2 separate regions of the Homo sapiens genome follow, and region 2 is linked to region 1. The links are contacts of gene promoters, found by promoter capture Hi-C in human tissues and cell types (Jung and others, 2019). All regions are on one chromosome and are shown on one strand. Each heading gives the region's core, a stretch centred on a gene start or on the middle of the fragment in contact. The rest is flanking DNA. Distances are from core to core; before and after follow the strand shown. Region 1 holds the start of ACTBL2 (actin beta like 2). Region 2 has its middle 55 kb from the start of LINC02101.

Region 1 (2,937 bases), core at 236-2,735:
ATAAATCTATATCAAGCTATAGACAAAGAAGAGGGCTGGATGCTCACAGCTTGATGCTACACCATGACTCTCCAAGAGGCTCACTGGGCAAAGACTCAGGTTAGTTCTCCTGGCCTTGAGCTGGAGGGTGTTTTTTGTCCAGTAAATAGGGGCTGTGCTACCTCTTACAAAGCAAGCTTTATTGGGTAAATGAATGAATGATGAACCCAAATAAAGATTATTTTGGAGAACTCAGATGTAGACATGGAAAATTTCTTTGCTTTACAAGAGCTCACAAAGATAATTATATTCTATTCGCCTAACACATAGGGGAGCAGAAGTAATGAGCTTTCTTAAATGCTATTTCTCTGTAACACATTGCTGATGTCCTACATTTTACCATCATACACATCTTTTCAGGTAGTCTGTATTTCTATATGAAACATGGAACCCAAACAAATTGTTGCTATGAAGTGATCAGGGTGTAATATATCTTGAAATGGAAGGAAAGCTAGTATAATTCTAATTGTATAGATTTTAATAACTACATAGAGGTTTAATGTTATAATATAGTATATGTATCTTGAAGATCAAAATGTTTTAAGGATTAGTTTAAATATATAATTTTTCAAATTTGTCTTATCACTTCATTTTGTCCATTGTTGCAGAACTCAAGAGTTGTTGCAAATAAATAAATTTTTATAACCTGCATCTTAATAAATCATGCAAAATAGTTGACATTCAGTCATTATACAATTAACATGGACCCAATGAACCTGGTTCTATGAACAATGTCTAGACACAGTAAATGTTTAATGAAATTTGGTTGTTAGAAATTTATATCAGAAAAAAGTATCTATATGGGTTAACTTTAGCAATCATTCTATTCCTTTCGCTTGATCTCTGATGGATTAGAAGTCTATTAAATATCTCTACATTTTGCTTGACACAAGTGCATTGTAATTACAGCCATCAGGCCATCCTTAGCCATTTATTATTTTCATTTACTAAAACAGTCTCTACGATGATGACACCCTGTGGGATTAGGAATCTAATGGAAACAAAAATCTTGAAAAAGTGAAGATTGCAGGGTAAGACCCCTCATCAGAACAGTATCTTAAGAATGAAAAGGTAAGCTAGTGTAGGAAAAGTGAATCCTCAGGGACGCTAAGGAGGGAGCCTTCCTCCCAGCAGTGTTGCCATACCTAGCACCAGCTTTCTTTCATCTTGCTTTTATATCCCCCACTGCATCATCATAGTTATCTAGAGACCTCACCAGGCAGGCTGACGGTCATGTGTGGGTTGCCTAATTACAGGAACCTGAGATTTGACCACTTGGCAGCCAATTTTCTCTTTATGTAGAAAGATCTAATTGTTTATGTAATCATCACCATCATTAATACCTCAGAGATGACCTCATCCAGAAATGCTGGGAACTGGTGGAGTAGGACATGGGCGGAGTCAGTGTGTTCCTTTAAATACCTGTGGTCCCGGTGCAGCCTCCCGTGTCTGAAAGCATTTCTGGAGTGTTTTAGGCCTGTTCACTTTCTCTTACTCACTGTCTATTCACTTGTCCTGTTCACTCGTCTGGAAGATCTCAGCCAGCACCATGACTGACAATGAGCTGTCTGCCTTGGTAGTGGATAATGGGTCAGGGATGTGCAAGGCAGGCTTTGGTGGTGACGATGCCCCCCGGGCTGTGTTCCCCTCCATGATAGGGCGTCCTCGACACCAGGGCGTTATGGTAGGCATGGGCCAGAAGGACTGCTACGTGGGAGATGAGGCTCAGAGCAAGAGAGGCGTCCTGACCCTGAAGTATCCTATCGAGCATGGAGTGGTCACCAACTGGGACGATATGGAAAAGATCTGGTACCACACATTCTACAATGAGCTCCGTGTGGCACCAGATGAGCATCCCATCCTCCTCACCGAGGCACCCCTGAACCCCAAGATCAACCGGGAAAAGATGACTCAGATCATGTTCGAGGCTTTCAACACACCAGCCATGTATGTCGCCATCCAGGCTGTGCTGTCCCTCTATGCCTCAGGACGGACCACAGGCATCGTGATGGATTCTGGGGATGGGGTCACTCACATCGTGCCCATCTATGAAGGTTATGCCCTGCCTCATGCCATTCTACGCCTGGATCTGGCAGGGAGAGACCTGACTGATTACCTCATGAAGATCCTGACAGAGCGAGGCTATAACTTCACCACCACTGCTGAGCGGGAGATTGTGCGAGATGTCAAAGAGAAGCTGTGCTACGTAGCCCTGGACTTTGAGCAGGAGATGGTCAGGGCAGCCGCATCCTCCTCACCGGAACGGAGCTATGAACTTCCTGATGGGCAGGTGATCACCATTGGGAATGAACGCTTCCGATGCCCTGAAGCCATTTTCCAGCCTTCCTTTCTGGGCATTGAGTCCAGTGGGATCCATGAGACAACCTTCAACTCTATCATGAAGTGCGATGTGGATATTCGCAAGGATCTCTATGCCAACACCGTGTTATCTGGAGGGAGCACCATGTACCCAGGCATTGCTGACAGGATGCAGAAAGAAATCATAACCCTGGCACCCAGCACCATGAAAATCAAGATCATAGCTCCCCCAGAGCGGAAGTATTCTGTTTGGATTGGGGGCTCCATCCTTGCCAGCCTGTCCACATTCCAGCAGATGTGGATCAGTAAGCAGGAATATGATGAGGCTGGTCCTCCTATCGTTCACAGAAAATGTTTCTGAATGGGCTTCCATATTAGTGGGCTTACATTTTCCCTTTTCCTAGGTCACAGTGATGGTACTGCTTTTATCCGCTTTCAGTAGAATCGAGGTAAATACGTCACTCTTCCTAGTGTAAACCAGCAAACCCATCTCTCCATCCAAGTAACCTGGGCTCTTACCCAGATAACCACATCCGGTTCTCCATCAAGTGAAGGTGAATTCTAATACCATATTCCTTT
Region 2 (2,937 bases), core at 306-2,805, 690 kb before region 1:
ATTTGTAAACCCATTTAAACATGGATCCATACTTTGTGTGTACTTTTCAATGAACTCAATCCCTCATAAAAGTGATAGTTTTTATTTCTATCTGTGTGACCCTATCTCTTTCTTCTGTATTAGATCAGAATTAGGGAGAGAAAATTAGAGGTGGATTATGTTACTGCCAACCCCATCTACCCTCACGTCCAAATCTAACATAATTGGAGTTCTGGAAATCCCATATCTTTCTGTTCAGCTGCTCTAGTTTAGCCTGTTCCTCATCCTTTACCACCCATTACATCCTTGCCTTAGACCCTTGTATTACCTACTTCTAATCATTGTCTAGTGTCTCTTCAGAAGGCCATGTAGTTATACTCTTGTACTCTATTTCTCTTAAACTCTTGAACCAATGAATCCATCTAGGCGTCATCTTTACTACTTATTTCAATAACAAACTTCTTCTAGCCTACTGACCAAATCTTTTCCAGCCTCCTATCCTAGGTAGGGGTATGGGTTTTCTCTTGTCAATGGATCCTAGAACTATTTTGTCAGTCCTTGGTGATAAAACCTTAGCTCTTTTTGTCCCATTAACAAGAAATTTTAATAATCACTGCTACAACTTGTAGTTCCAACTACAGCTAGCAAAGTAATAATGATATAGTATTATTATTAAGAGAGTTCATCTGGCCGGGTGCAGTAGTTCATACCTGTAATCCCAGCACCTTGGGAGGCTGAGGTGGGTGGATTACTTGAGGTCAGGAGTTCGAGATCAGCCTGGCCAACATACTGAAACCCCGTTTCTACTAAAACTACAAAAATTAGCTGGGCATGGTGGCGTCCGCCCGTAGTCCCAGCTACTCGGGAGGCTGAGGCACAAGAATCGCTTGAACCCAGGAGGCGGAGGTTGCAGTCAGCTGAGATTGCACCACTGCACTCCAGCCTGGGCAACAGAGCAAGACTATCTAAAAAAAAAAAAGAGTTAATTTGCAAGTAATATGAGAAAAATTGATTTTCAAATTAGCTGTGTTTTGCACATACGACATATGAGCGTTACTTTATGGTAACTCTTTCCATCAATATGTATAAATGTAAGAGAGTTTTCTAAGCATATATATCAGAGACCTACTCATTGCAAAACTGGTCATAATATGGGCATTTTGGGTAGTGGTACAATTCAATTCCTGATTTCTCTGTTTTGACACATCATCTTTTCTGAGACGCTTGCTCTTTGAGAGGGTACCCGCTATCTCTGTTTCCCATACTTCCCCTTGAGAAGCCTGCACTGCTTGCTGATTTGAAGGGGAGGAAAATCATCGGGAGTTTTGGAGTGAATCTTATCCCAGTTGTCTCATATGTGCAAAAAGTAGCCATGTTTCAAGACATCTTCATTATTCCCATAAGTGCGTAATAGGAAAAGAAATATCTGCAACCAGAAACTCAAAAAGAAGCAGAAATCTTTATCTGCCAGGACACAAAGAATCTTATTTTACCATCCCTTACAAGATATTTAAATGTCACTTACCCTCTTAGCATGTTAGTTTTCCTCCATCATTGAAATGGGTGACAGTTTTCTGGCCAACTTCATTAATTAGCCAGCCCATCAAGTAAGTAGTTTTTGAGTAAAAATGTTTTAAGCACAATACTACACTATATGCTGGGGAAAGAAAAGTCTATCTAAACTATTACAGACCTATTTCTTGTTTCCCAGGACCATAAAATGAAGCCCATGTAAATTAAACAACTAGGGAAGGGGACTATACATTGTAAATTCTAATATAGGCCTAATAAAGTATCACATAGACAAACTGCATGGAGCAGATATAAAAATAATAAACACACAACATTGTGAAAATCCAAAAGGATTTAATAAATGCTAATTGCTTTTGAGTGATTCATGAAAAAAAGTATTTCAGGACACTATTTAAAGTCTACATTAGCTGGCTCTGGAGGCAGCATAGAAATTTAAAACACAGGCTTTACCCTTCAATGGTTTATAGTTTAATCAATGAAGATTAGATATGAGACCCAATATTAATTATATATATGTGTGTATATATATATATATATGTGTGTGTGTGTGTGTCTGTGTGTGTGTGTGTATATATATATATATTATATATTATATACATATATATATATTTTTTTTTTCAAGATGGAGTTTTACTCTTGTTGCCCAGGCTAGAGTGTAATGGCGCCACCTTGGCTCACTGTAACCTCTGCCTCCTGGGTTCAAATGATTCTCCTGCCTCAGCCTCCTGAGTAGCTTGGATTACAGGTGCCCGCCACCATGCCTGGCTAAGTTTTTGTATTTTTAGTAGAGATGGGGTTTCACCACACTGGCCAGGCTGGGCTCGAACTCCGAACCTAAGGTGATCCACCCGCCTCAGCCTCCAAAAGTGCTGGGATTACAGGCATGAGCCACTGCGCCTGGCCAGTAATATTATCTATAATAAAGAAACTTTCTGGCCTTTCCAGACTAGATTGCTACTTCTTGATATACAAGGCACTGCACTTTTTATAAATACATTAAGCTATTAATTTTATAATTATTTGTTTATTATCTCACTCCCCTATTAGAAAGAAAGCTTGCTTAGAATGGGGACCATGACTCTCCAGTTTGCCACTGTATCTTAGTGTAGATTTTTGGATACAGTGGGTACTCAATAAATACTTTTAAATTAATTAATAATAAATAAGCACACATTTTTGCTATTATATTACTTTATTATATTATATTTATTATGTATGTAATGGGCTGAATTGTGTCACCCTCGAAATTTGCATGCTGAAGTACTCAGAATGTGGCCTTATCTGGAGAAAGGGTTTTTACAGAGGTAATCAAATTAAAATGAGGTCATTAGGGTGGACTAACCCAGTATGACTAGTACCCTCAAAAAAGAAGAAAGCAAGAGATACACACAGGGAGAATGTCATATGAACATCAAGGCAGAGATC

The links. Contacts are between HindIII fragments. The study calls those that stand out against the background at their distance.
Region 2: a contact is called between a fragment that was not itself captured here and the fragment with the promoter of ACTBL2 in region 1, in 1 of the 25 tissues and cell types used here (dorsolateral prefrontal cortex).

What each region holds. Positions count from the first base shown.
Region 1 is chr5:57,481,359-57,484,295 of GRCh38, reverse strand. ACTBL2 (actin beta like 2) reads left to right here and starts at 1,485. Exons shown (of 1, transcript NM_001017992.4): 1 at 1,485-2,937. The coding sequence starts at 1,589. The coding sequence ends at 2,719. The region is part of intron 1 of RMEL3 (enriched in melanoma 3); the gene reads right to left. The HindIII fragment of the contact is 3,416 bases long and covers 1-2,937 here.
Region 2 is chr5:58,175,959-58,178,895 of GRCh38, reverse strand. No RefSeq gene overlaps it. Among named protein-coding and RNA genes, the nearest start is that of LINC02101, 55 kb to the right of the region's middle. The HindIII fragment of the contact is 4,380 bases long and covers 1-2,937 here.